4 separate regions of the Homo sapiens genome follow, and regions 2, 3 and 4 are each linked to region 1. Evidence: promoter capture Hi-C in human tissues and cell types (Jung and others, 2019). All regions are on one chromosome and are shown on one strand. The core of a region is centred on a gene start or on the middle of the fragment in contact, and the rest is flanking DNA. Distances in the headings are between cores, read along the strand shown.

Region 1 (3,080 bases), core at 315-2,814:
CTCCAGTGCATCTCCAAGCCTGACTTCCTGACCTCTTTTATACAATCTCTGGGCAAAACTACCAGTCGCTGTTATTTTCCTCTCTGCGGTAAACATGGAGCTCAAGAATGGATAGAAAGACCTTATTGTATTGCTCTACCTGGTAAATAAATATCATGTTGAATTTGCATGGCAGCTTTCTGATTATTTTCATGTCTCCGATAAGCATCAAGTCTGTCATAGGTACAGTATAAAAATGCCTGAGATTGCCTAACACCGATACTGTGGCAGGAAGAGAGGAGAAGAGCTGTACTGGGGAAAATGAGGAGTACTTGTAATCCTCTCTCGGGGCAGTGAGAGGGCCTGGGAAGAAAAGATCGAGCTGTTCCGTGTTGGGGTTAATGTTGGCTTGAAATGAAACTTCAGGGCAAAATGAAGCAGAGCAAAGAGCAGCGCCCACAAACCAACCTTAAATATCACAGCGGCGGAACATTTACCTGAAAGAAAAGTGACACTTGGCATTAAAAGTTCAATTATCACGTTCAGTGCAGAGCCTTGTTCTAGTCTGGAGCTGCCGGGTGTCACATGGTGCGTGATAACTTGCCCTTGATTTGGGTTCATTTGAAGAGCGTAGAACTCTAACAAATAAACAGCCTTTTGGGACCTGTCCCCGGACGAGGACTGCCCCCCTCCCTCGGGCAACTACTACTGATGCTGTCCAGGCATCGCCCAAGGGGAAAGGTTGCAGCGGGGTCGGAAGGCGCGGGAGGAGTCTGGCGGTGATTGATGGGAAGGGATGAATGAATAAAAGTACTTGTCTGATGGCAGCAGAGACCCCGAGCAAACGGTGGAGGCTACACTGTCTGGCATTCTCGCAGCGTTTCGTCAGAGCCGGACCCGCCTGCAGCTCAAGGGAGGCGTGCTCCTCTCCCAGAGCAGGCTGGAACCCAGCTGGGTTCCGCCTCCCGGGAAGGTGGTCTCCATTCGTCGCTCTGCATCTGGTTTGTCAGATCCGAGAGGTAAACATTCGGGCTTGGTGTTGAATTAAAATCATTGATTGAACCTTATTCTGGGGCTTCGGTTTGGCTTACTAGTTTGGGATTTTAAAAAAATAAAAATTAAGCCTATAGAGAGGGCAAATTAAAATTAGGTTGGGTAAAGGAAGGAGCGCGAGTGTTTGAAGCCGTTTGGAGGGAACAGCGGTTTCCAAGTTCCTGCTGACTTGAGAAGTCTCTGCGGGTTTCCGAATCTCCGGCGCACTCCTGGGCGCGCTGCGGGAGCTGTAGCTCAGCCAGCCAGGGAGTAGCGGCTTTCATCCGCCGGGAGGAGTCTTTCGAGTTCAATCGCGGGGTATAGAGGTTCCCCTGCGGGGCAAAATGCAGAGCTTGACACAAGCCCTTGGCCTCTAGGTGCCTTAATTCCGCGGTTCCCACGCACGCTTAACTAAGACGTGTCTGTATTCCTCCCGTTACGTGAAAGAGTTCGGAGCTTTGCCTGGGACCCCCATCATTCCCTCCCTGGCACACCCCTTCCAGAACGCCCCGCCCCACTGCATATTATTTACCCCTCCTGGCCACGCGGGGGAAGAAAAACAGCTGAGAGGGCATCAGGAAGGAGTTTCGACCCGCGCTGGCGAGTCATGAGCGCCAAGTTTCCCACTGGCGCGCAAACTTGAGTTACTTTTGAGCGTGGATACTGGCGAAGAGGCTGCGGGCGGTATTAGCGTTTGCAGCGACTTGGCTCGGGCAGCTGACCCAAGTGTCCTGTCTTCCTTCCTCTGCTTGTCTCTAGGCTCTGAAACTGCGGAGCGGCCACCGGACGCCTTCTGGAGCAGGTAGCAGCATGCAGCCGCCTCCAAGTCTGTGCGGACGCGCCCTGGTTGCGCTGGTTCTTGCCTGCGGCCTGTCGCGGATCTGGGGAGAGGAGAGAGGCTTCCCGCCTGACAGGGCCACTCCGCTTTTGCAAACCGCAGAGATAATGACGCCACCCACTAAGACCTTATGGCCCAAGGGTTCCAACGCCAGTCTGGCGCGGTCGTTGGCACCTGCGGAGGTGCCTAAAGGAGACAGGACGGCAGGATCTCCGCCACGCACCATCTCCCCTCCCCCGTGCCAAGGACCCATCGAGATCAAGGAGACTTTCAAATACATCAACACGGTTGTGTCCTGCCTTGTGTTCGTGCTGGGGATCATCGGGAACTCCACACTTCTGAGAATTATCTACAAGAACAAGTGCATGCGAAACGGTCCCAATATCTTGATCGCCAGCTTGGCTCTGGGAGACCTGCTGCACATCGTCATTGACATCCCTATCAATGTCTACAAGGTAAAGGGCGCCTGCTGAAATCATGGTGGGCTTGAGGAAGGGGGCCTGGTTGGAGACGGGGAGATGAGAAAGCTTGTAGAGGGAGCTTCCCTTTAGCTCCCTCTTAAGGTTCTGCCCCTCCTAAAAGTCAGTAATCTTTGGAACCAAATTCCATTTGGTTCTGTCCACTCATAAAAGTCAGTAACCATTGGAATAAAATTCCATTCAGGTCTTCAGTAGACCTCTGCTAAGCTTAGGACAAGCGTAGTCCCCAGTCTAGCAATGTTAGTATCACTTTGGGAACTTGGTGCACATGAAGATTTTTCTGGCCTCACCCCAGACCTACTGAATCAGAAACTCTGGAGTGGAGCACAGTAATTTGTATTTTAACAAGCCCTTTATGTGATTATGATGAACTGTAAAGTTTGAGAACCACTAGTCCTGAAGGATCTAGTCCCTAAGTGCACCTAATGGGGTACATCCTCTAGTCAAAAGTGTGTGGTCCATGGACAGTCAGCATCAATATTACCTGAGAGTTTGTTAGGAATGCAAGGCTACCTCAGACTTACTAAGTTAGAATCTGCATCTTAAGATCTTCATGTGATTGATATGCCCACTAACTTTGGGAAGGACTGTTTTGGAAGACTTTGAAAGTAGCAGGTACAAAGTAGGTATTTAGGAAATAAATGGCCTGGAAAAAAGAGATCCAGACTGGTGAGTAGGAAAAACACAGTTCACCTGCTGTGACGGACTGTAGCTACTTTGTATTAAATATCTACAGTGGGCCAAGGACTGGG
Region 2 (3,080 bases), core at 302-2,801, 60 kb before region 1:
ATAACTTTATTTTACTATGAAATAAATATGATTAAAGAAAGAAACATAACCAAAATCCTTGGAGAGTAAAAAATATATACATAGGTCATTTTTTCCCCTTCTCTGCTATTATAACACCTCCCGTTATCAGTTCTCTAAAAGAACAATTCCAAACCTCAGAGTGTGCTGAGTCAGTTTATCAGCTTCTCTGCCACTTGCTTACTAGTATTTTTTGGACAACAATCATACCCACCTCTCTGCCACACTCGCAGGAAAGATATTTATTTCCACATATGCCCTCCTGGCTTCTGCACATCTAGATTCCTGTTCCCCTCTCCAAAAGCTGTTGCTAGCAGTCACATTTTTTTCTGCTGATCAAAGAAGAAAAGCAAAATCCATCTCTCCTTCTCTCCCTCCCTCCTTTTCTCTCTCCCTCCCTCCTTAAATCCCTTTTTCCCACTTAACTTTTGGAAAAACAATTGCGCAAGAAATTAGAAAACCCCAAAGATAGTATTTTCAAATTTCAACAAAATTATAAAAGATACACCTTTTTATTTGTGCCTCAGGATGCACAGAAAATAATGGATTTTCATATGGAAAAAAATAAATTTCAATGTTTCAAGAAAAAAAATGTAGCTGGACCAATCCTTATCAAGCCTTGAATGTGATCCCTTTACTCTTGACAATCAAGGACTCTAATCTACAGGTCTTTTACTTCTAACTCATTCTAAAATACATTTCAACTCACAGTTCCAAAATTCAGCCTCTTGAACCACTTTTCCTGTACTTAAACCTCATTACCTATCTCATTTTTCATGACTTTCTTTGCTATAAAGGTCATGGATTAAATTACCATATTTCTTCCCCTTATAAATCAGCAGGTATTAATTTTCTTAATGAATCATCAACTATTTATCAAGAGCCTATCATGTACCAGGCATTGTTTTAGGTGCTGGGCTACAGATATTAACAAGACAACTAATAAGAAGTTGCACTAATAAATACACAACACAATACCAAAAAGTAATGTAACTATCAACAATGACCTATATGAAAAGGAAATTAAGACAATCCCATTTGCAATATCATCAAACATAGTAAAATACTTTGGAATACATCTAACCATGGAGGTGAAAGATTTGTACACTGAAAACTATAAAACATTGATTAAAGAAGTTAAAGTAGGCACAAATAAATAGAAAGACATCCTGTGTTCATAGATTGGATGAATCAATATTGTTAAAACATCCATATGACTCAAAATAATCTATAGATTCAATGAAACCCCTGTCAAAATCTCAAAGATGTTTATTACAGAAGTAGAAAAAAAAAGCTCTAAAATTCATATGGAACTCCGAAAGACCCCAAACATCCAAAGAAATCTTGAGCAAAAAGAACAAAGCTGGAGGCATTGCACTTCCTGACTTCAATATGTATTACAAAGCTACTGTAACCAAAACAGTATGGCACGGGCATAAAAGCATAGAACAGTGAAACAAAATAGAGACCCCAGAAATAAGCCCACATATGTATGGTCAACTGATTTTCTACAGAGTGCCAAGAATACAAGGGGGAAGGGGTAGTCTTTCAATAAATAGGGTTGGCAAAACTGGATATCCATCTGCAGAAGAATGAAATGGGATGCTTATCTTTTACCAAACACAAAAATTAACCAAAATTGATTAAAGATTTGATGTAAAATTTGGCACCATACAACACCTAGAAGAAAATGTAAGGAAAAAATGTCTCAACATGGGTTTTGACAAAAATTGTTTCTTTGATAGGACACCAAAAGAACAGGCAACAATAGCAAAAATAGTAGTGAGACTATAACAAATTTTTTAAAACTTCTGCACAGCAAAGAAAATAATCAACAGAGTGAAAAGGCAAACTATGGAATGGGAAAAGATATTTGCAAACCATATATCTGATAAAGGGTTAATATCCAAACTATATAAAGGATTTCTGCAACTCGAGAGCAAAAAATAAGTAATTTGGTTAGAACATTGGAAAAGGAATCAAGTAGACATGTCCCCCAAAAGGACATACAAATGCCAACAGATAATATAAAAACATGCTCAATATCATTAATCACCAGGGAAATGCAAATTGAAACCACAAACAGGTATCAACTCACATTGGTTAGAATGGCTATTGTCCAGAAAACAAAAGATAACAAGTGTTGGTGAGGTTGTGGAGAAATTAGAATCCTCATATACTGTTAATAGGATGTAAAATTGTACTGCTGCTATGGAAAACAGTATGGCAGTTTCTCAAAAAACTAAAAATAGAATTACCATATGATACAGCAGTCCAACTTCTGGAGATAAAGATAGATAGATAGATAGATAGATAGATAGATAGATAGATAGATAGAGATATGTGTGTGTGTGTGTGTGTGTGTGTGTGTGTGTATCAACTGAAATCAGGATCTTGAAGACATATCTGCACTGTCATATTCACTGCAGCATTATTCACAATAACCAAGATATGGAAACAACCCAAATGTCCATCACAGATGAATGGGTAAAGAAAAGATGGCACATATATATATATATATATATATATATATATATATATATATATATGTATATATATATGTGTGTATTTTATGTATATATATATATATACACGTGTATATATATATATACACGTGTATATATATATATATATATACACGTGTATATATATATATATATATATATATATAATAGAATATCATTTAGCCCTTAAAAAGAAGGAGATCCCTTTGGGAGTCTGAGGCGGGCAGATGACCTAAGGTCAGGAGTTCGAGACCAGCCTGACCAACATGGTGAAACTCCATCTCCACTAAAAATACAAAAATTAGCCAGGCGTGATGGTGGGTGCCTGTAATCCCAGCTATTTGGGAGGCTGAGGCAGGAGAATCACTTGAACCTGGGAGCCGGAGGTTGCAGTGAGCTGAGATCATGCCATTGCACTCCAGCCTGGGTGACAAGAGTGAAACTCCATCTCAAAAAATAAAATTAAATTTAAAAATAAAATAAAATGAAGGAGATCTTACCATTTATGATAACATGGGTGGATCTGTAATACGTTATGGTAAGTGGGATAAGTCACAG
Region 3 (3,080 bases), core at 253-2,752, 58 kb after region 1:
ACTAGTAAACAGTTATCTCTACATATACATTAACACATTAGCGTACACTATTTCACCATCAAAAATATGAGATGTGAAAAAAACTTTCATAATTTTTTTATAAACCACCATGATTTCCACATTTCCTCTGCATTCAGGTTGTCACTGTCAGTTAGCCTACTAGCATCAGCTGACGTTTATCATCTGGCCAAGGGGAAAGGAAAAGGGCAAGGGCTGAATGTGGGATTCCTTCCGAGTTCTTATCTTCCTATAAGCAATCCTAGGAAGAATTATCTGGCTCCTCATCTTCTCTCTTCCAAAAATATTCCTGAACCTATTGATTTTATTTCCTGATTCCTCCAGGGATTTTCTCTTGACACTGGAAAACAAACTTTTACTGCTGAGAGACCTCATGTCTATCAAAAAGCCTACTTCTTACAAATCAAGTGTCTTGGGATTCAAGATTGTTTTCTTTGTTTTCAGTTCAAATCACTGTTTTAAAACTGAAGTTATGAGCCTATCACTTCTTCTTGTCATCTCTGCTACAATATTTGTAATACCCCCAAAGCAATGAATACTTCTGTCAGAAAAGGAAGAGGTTTATTTACAAGGAGGTATAAGACCTGTCCTAAGTGCAAGATTCGATTTAAATTATATATCACACTTCTAAATTTTCAAAAAATTACATTTTACGACTTTTTAACTCTAAGCCAAAAATATTTAGCACACGACCAGACCAATAAGTATATAAAACATTGAAACGACTACAAGGAGAATAAATACTACGCTAACAATTTTTAAAAACTGAAATAAAGTCTATGCAATTGTTAACTCTTAAGATGACACAAATTAGGTCTGCTAACATAAAAGGGAAATTTTATCGATTCAGATCCATGCCAGCTATCTTAATCTGCTGCATTGCCCGCAGAACAGAAAATCCTTGGATTTCTCCCTGAAAATCATGATTTCCAGGCTAGGCTCATTTTCCTTTTTCTAAATGTTTCATGTTTGGAAACACCACCTGAACTAACTGCACTGATGTTAGCAGACCCAGCTTTGATTCCTAATATCATCTAGCAGTTATTACTGACAATAACTGCTATGACTTACAAAAACTTCTGATTTTCAACTGCCATTATGTCTAAGGCAGTTTGGGCAAAACAGCTGAGGTAAAACAGGAAGATGAAGTTTACAGCTTGAGGGAAGCAACAGCTGTTGGCTGTCTTGAGAAAGGAATTGAGTACAAAACACAAACTTCTGTTGATTATGCATGCAAGCATAAAAGATAAATGACTCAGTGAAATGACTCACTTCATTTTCAAGTAAACTTTGTAGTTGTTACTCCTCTTCTACTATGTTAAATATTTAAGTTTACCTTTAATTATAGGCTAAGTCTGGACATCAAAACTTAAATTCTTTCAGCCTGCTACAAGAAGATATTAAATGCTTACTTCCAAAAATAACTTTGTTAATTGCTGTAGTAAGACATAAATCTGGCAGCGAATCCTTTGAAAATGAATACCACATGGATCAAATCATCTAATTAGTTTAGACAAGCCATAAATATGTTTTAATGGGCCAAAACTGTAAAATTGTTGGAGGCACTGCATAATTTCTTGGGGGGATTAAGTTGCTTTGCTTATTATTTTTGCTATTAATAATAGTATTTATTTGTACTCAGATAAGACTTGGAACTGTACACAATATATAGTCAAGAAACCCTCCATTTTAATTTGAAAAGAGAAGTAGTTGTGATTAAATACGCTTAAAATATTTTCATTTTTCCATTTTTTTAACTTTTTAATTTTTCTTTCATTATTAAAAGCCTCCAAAAAAGAGGAAGAAAAACATGAGAATAGTAAGAAAGGGGGAGGAAAGGCTGATAGAGAAGGAAAAAGGAAGAGAAGTAAAACAGGAAGGAAGGAGATGAGAAGTTGACCAGTTGGGGTCATTGACTGGAAGAAATAGTAACTGACTCCAACTAGCTTAGGCAAAAAGGCAACTTATTGGAAGCATATAGGTAGTTCGTAGATTAGTGAGGAAAGCTTAGAATCTTGACACACAAAACCAAACTTTTACTGCTCAAAGACCTTGTGTGTATCAAAAAGCCTAGCACTTTTTGAGAATTACTCACAGATTAGCGAGTAAAGCTTAGAATCCAAGGTTTGAAAAAAAACAGGAATGAGGGCAAAAACTAACAGATGCCTTCTTCCAGGTGGGATAAATCAGTTCCAGTGATTTTCTATTTATCCATCACTGTGTCTGGATACAAACGTTAAAAGAGAATTTTAGACAAATTAAATTTAACAGAGTTTAATTGAGCAAGGAAAAAAATGATTCACAAATCGGGCAGCCTCCAGAATCACAGCAGATTGAGCAAGACTCCAGGGATGCCTCACGGTCAGAGCAAATTTGTAGACAAACAAAATAAGTGACGTGCAGAAAAACGGAAGTGAGGTACAGAAACAGCTGGATTGGTTACAGGTTGGCATTTGCCTTCTTTGAACACAGTTTGAACAGTCAGCAGTGTACACGTGGTTGAAGTATGGCTGCTGGGATTGGCTGAGACTCAGCTATTGTTACAGAAGCATACGCCTAAGTTAGGTTTTCAGTCTTGTCTACCTATTAACTTAGGTTACGGTTCGTCCAAAAGGACTCAAATATGGAAGTACAGAGGCTTTTTCAGGCCATATTTAGTTCACTTTAACATAAATACTAAAGATAGAGAGTAGCACTGACCTAATTTGATTTAATGCTTACCCCTTAACTAAAGGGGATCCAGGGATGCTACACCCATGGGGAGACTGGAGAAATGGAAGAAGGCAAAACTAGCAAAGACATGAGAGTGAGGAACATGCAAAGAAGGAGAGGAAAAATCTGAGCAAAAGCAATGTGAATGCTTTGAACACATTCTTTGTACACATTCAATGAATTCAAGCATGCTTTTTGAGACTTTCATTTGCTTTGGGGCGGTGAGAAGGGGAGGGAGTTGATGAGGATGACTGAAGGATAAGTAGAGGCTGATGTTTTTAAGGAAACAGATCAGTAAATGATTTTTTTCAGAATAATTTCTGAATAGTGACCTGAATAAAAGATGCACT
Region 4 (3,080 bases), core at 242-2,741, 43 kb before region 1:
TCCAGCTTTGTTCTTTTGGCTTAGGACTGACTTGGCAATGTGAGCTCTTTTTTGGTTCCATATGAACTTTAAAGTAGTTTTTTCCAATTCTGTGAAGAAAGTCATTGGTAGGTTGATGGGGATGGCATTGACTCTATAAATTACTTGGGCAGTATGGACATTTTCACGATATTGATTATTCTTATCCATGAGCATGGAATGTTCTTCCATTTGTTTGTGTCCTCTTTTATTTCGTTGAGCAGTGGTTTGTAGTTCTCCTTGAAGAGGTCCTTCACATCCCTTGTAAGTTGGATTCCTAGGTATTTTATTCTCCTTGAAGCAATTGTGAATGGGAGTTCACTCATGATTTGGCTCTGTTTGTCTGTTATTGGTGTATAAGAATGCTTGTGATTTTTGCACATTGATTTTGTATCCTGAGACTTTGCTGAAGTTGTTTATCAGCTTAAGGAGATTTTGGGTTGAGACAATGGGGTTTTCTAAATATACAATCATGTCATCTGCAAACAGGGACAATTTGACTTCCTCTTTTCTTAATTGAATACCCTTTATTTCTTTCTCCTGCCTGATTGCCCTGGCCAGAACTTCCAACACTATGTTGAATAGGAGTGGTGAGAGAGGGCATCCCTTTCTTGTGCCAGTTTTCAAACGGAATGCTTCCAGTTTTTTGCCCATTCAGTATGATACTGGCTGTGAGTTTGTCATAAATAGCTCTTATGATTTTGAGATATGTCCCATCAATACCTAATTTGTTGAGAGTTTTTAGCATGAAGGGCTGTTGAATTTTGTCAAAGGCCTTTTCTGCATCTATTGTGATAATCATGTGGTTTTTGTCTTTGGTTCTGTTTATATGCTGGATTACATTTATTGATTTGTGTGTGTTGAACCAGCAGGATGAAGCCCACTTGATCATGGTCAATAAGGTTTTTCATGTGCTGCTGGATTCGCTTTGCCAGTATTTTATTGAGGATTTTTGCATCAAAGTTCATCAGGGATATTGGTCTACAATACTCTTTTTTTTGTTGTGTCTCTGCCAGGCTTTGGTATCAGGATGATGCTGGCCTTATAAAATGAGTTAGGGGGGATTCCGTCTTTTTCTATTGATTGGAATATTTTCAGAAGGAATGGTACCAGCTCCTCCTTGTACCTCTGGTAGAATTCGGCTGTGAATCCATTTGGTCCTGGACGTTTTTTGGTTGGTAGGCTATTAATTATTGCCTCAATTTCAGAGCCTGTTATTGGTCTATTCAGGGATTTAACTTCTTCCTGGTTTAGTCTTAGGAGGGTGTACGTGTCCAGGAATTTATCCATTTCTTCTAGATTTTCTAGTTTATTTGCGTAGAGGTGTTTATAGTATTCTCTGATGGTAGTTTGTATTTCTGTGGGATTGGTGGTGATATCCCCTTTATCATTTTTTATTGCATCTATTTGATTCTTCTCTCTTGTCTTCTTTATTAGTCTTGATAGCAGTCTTTCAATTTTGTTGACCTTTTCAAAAAACCAGCTCCTGGATTCATTGATTTTTTGAAGGGTTTTTCATGTCTCTATCTCCTTCAGTTCTGCACTGATCTTGTTATTTCTTGCCTTCTGCTAGCTTTTGAATGTGTTTGCTCTTGTTTCTCTAGTTCTTTTAATTGTGATGTTAGGGTGTCAATTTTAGATCTTTCCTGCTTTCTCCTGTGGGCATTTAGTGCTATAAATTTCCCTCTACACACTGCTTTAAATATGTCCCAGAGATTCTGGTATGTTGTGTCTTTGTTCTCATTGGTTTCAAAGAGCATCTTTATTTCTGCCTTCATTTCGTTATGTACCCAGTAGTCATTCAGGAGTGGGTTGTTCAGTTTCCATGTAGTTGAGTGGTTTTGAGTGAGTTTCTTAATCCTGAGTTCTAGTTTGATTGCACTGTAGTCTGAGAGACTGTTGGTTCTTATTTCTGTTCTTTTACATTTGCCGAGGAGTGCTTTACTTCCAACTATGTGCGACGTGGTGCTGAGAAGAAAGTATATTCTGTTGATTTGGGGTGGAGAGTTCTGTAGATGTCTATTAGGTCTGCTTGGTGCAGACCTAATAAGTTTGGAATAAGTGCGACGTGGTGCTGAGAAGAGAGTATATTCTCTTGATTTGGGGTGGAGAGTTCTGTAGATGTCTATTAGGTCTGCTTGGTGCAGAGCTGAGTTCAATTCCTGGGTATCCTTGTTAACTTTCTGTCTTGTTGATCTGTCTAATGTTGACAGTGGGGTGTTAAAGTCTCCCATTATTATTGTGTGGGAGTCTAAGTCTCTTTCTAGTCTCTAAGGACTTGCTTTATGTATCTGGGTGCTCCTGTACTGGGTGCATATATATTTAGGACAGTTAACTCTTCTTGTTGAATTGATCCCTTTACCATTATGTAATGGCCTTCTTTGTCTCTTTTGATCTTTGTTGGTTTAAAGTCTGTTTTATCAGAGACTAGGATTGCAACTCCTGCTTTTTTTTTTTTTTTTTTCCATTTGCTTGGTAGATTTTCCTCCATCCCTTTATTTTGAGCCTATGTGTGTCTCTGCACGTGAGATGGGTCTCCTGAATACAGCACACTGATGGTTCTTGACTCTTTATTGAATTTGCCAGTCTGTGTCTTTTAACTGGAGAATTTAGCCCATTTACATTTAAGGTTAATATTGTTATGTGCGAATTTGATCCTGCCAATTATGATGATAACTGGTTATTTTGCTCATTAGTTGATGCAGTTTCTTCCTAGCATCGATGGTCTTTACAATTTGGCATGTTTTTGCAGTGGCTGGTGCTGGCTGTTCCTTTCCATGTTCAGTGCTTCCTTCAGGAACTCTTGTAGGGCAGGCCTGGTGTGACAAAATCTCTCCGAATTTGCTTGTCTGTAAAGGATTTTATTTCTCCTTCACTTATGAAGCTTAGTTTGGCTGGATATGAAATTCTGGGGTTGAAAATTCTTTTCTTTAATAATGTTGAATATTGGCCCCCACTCTCTTCTGGCTTATAGAGTTTCTGCCGAGACATCTGCTGTTAGTCTGATGGGCTTTCCTTTGTGGGTAACCCGACCTTTCTCTCTGGCTGCCCTTAACATTTTT

What was found. The method cuts DNA at HindIII sites, captures the fragments that hold promoters and counts their contacts. A contact is called where the count stands out against the background at its distance.
Region 2: a fragment that was not itself captured here is called in contact with the fragment with the promoter of EDNRB in region 1 in 1 of the 25 tissues and cell types used here (adrenal gland).
Region 3: a fragment that was not itself captured here is called in contact with the fragment with the promoter of EDNRB in region 1 in 3 of the 25 tissues and cell types used here (H1 embryonic stem cells, bladder and neural progenitor cells).
Region 4: a fragment that was not itself captured here is called in contact with the fragment with the promoter of EDNRB in region 1 in 7 of the 25 tissues and cell types used here (H1 embryonic stem cells, adrenal gland, hippocampus and 4 more).

The regions. Positions count from the first base shown.
Region 1 is chr13:77,917,315-77,920,394 of GRCh38, reverse strand. EDNRB (endothelin receptor type B) reads left to right here and starts at 1,564. Exons shown (of 7, transcript NM_001122659.3): 1 at 1,564-2,304. The coding sequence starts at 1,822. RefSeq lists a cis regulatory region at 1,198-1,207 and promoters at 1,459-1,573, 563-1,635. The HindIII fragment of the contact is 11,006 bases long and covers 1-3,080 here.
Region 2 is chr13:77,977,288-77,980,367 of GRCh38, reverse strand. It overlaps LINC01069 (long intergenic non-protein coding RNA 1069), which reads left to right. Exons shown (of 3, transcript NR_108076.1): 3 at 1-602. Among named protein-coding and RNA genes, the nearest start is that of LINC01069, 16 kb to the left of the region's middle. The HindIII fragment of the contact is 5,052 bases long and covers 1-3,080 here.
Region 3 is chr13:77,858,992-77,862,071 of GRCh38, reverse strand. The region is part of intron 6 of EDNRB-AS1 (EDNRB antisense RNA 1); the gene reads right to left. Among named protein-coding and RNA genes, the nearest start is that of EDNRB-AS1, 42 kb to the right of the region's middle. The HindIII fragment of the contact is 3,072 bases long and covers 1-3,038 here.
Region 4 is chr13:77,960,263-77,963,342 of GRCh38, reverse strand. It overlaps a transcript of EDNRB not described here. Among named protein-coding and RNA genes, the nearest start is that of LINC01069, 33 kb to the left of the region's middle. The HindIII fragment of the contact is 6,838 bases long and covers 1-3,080 here.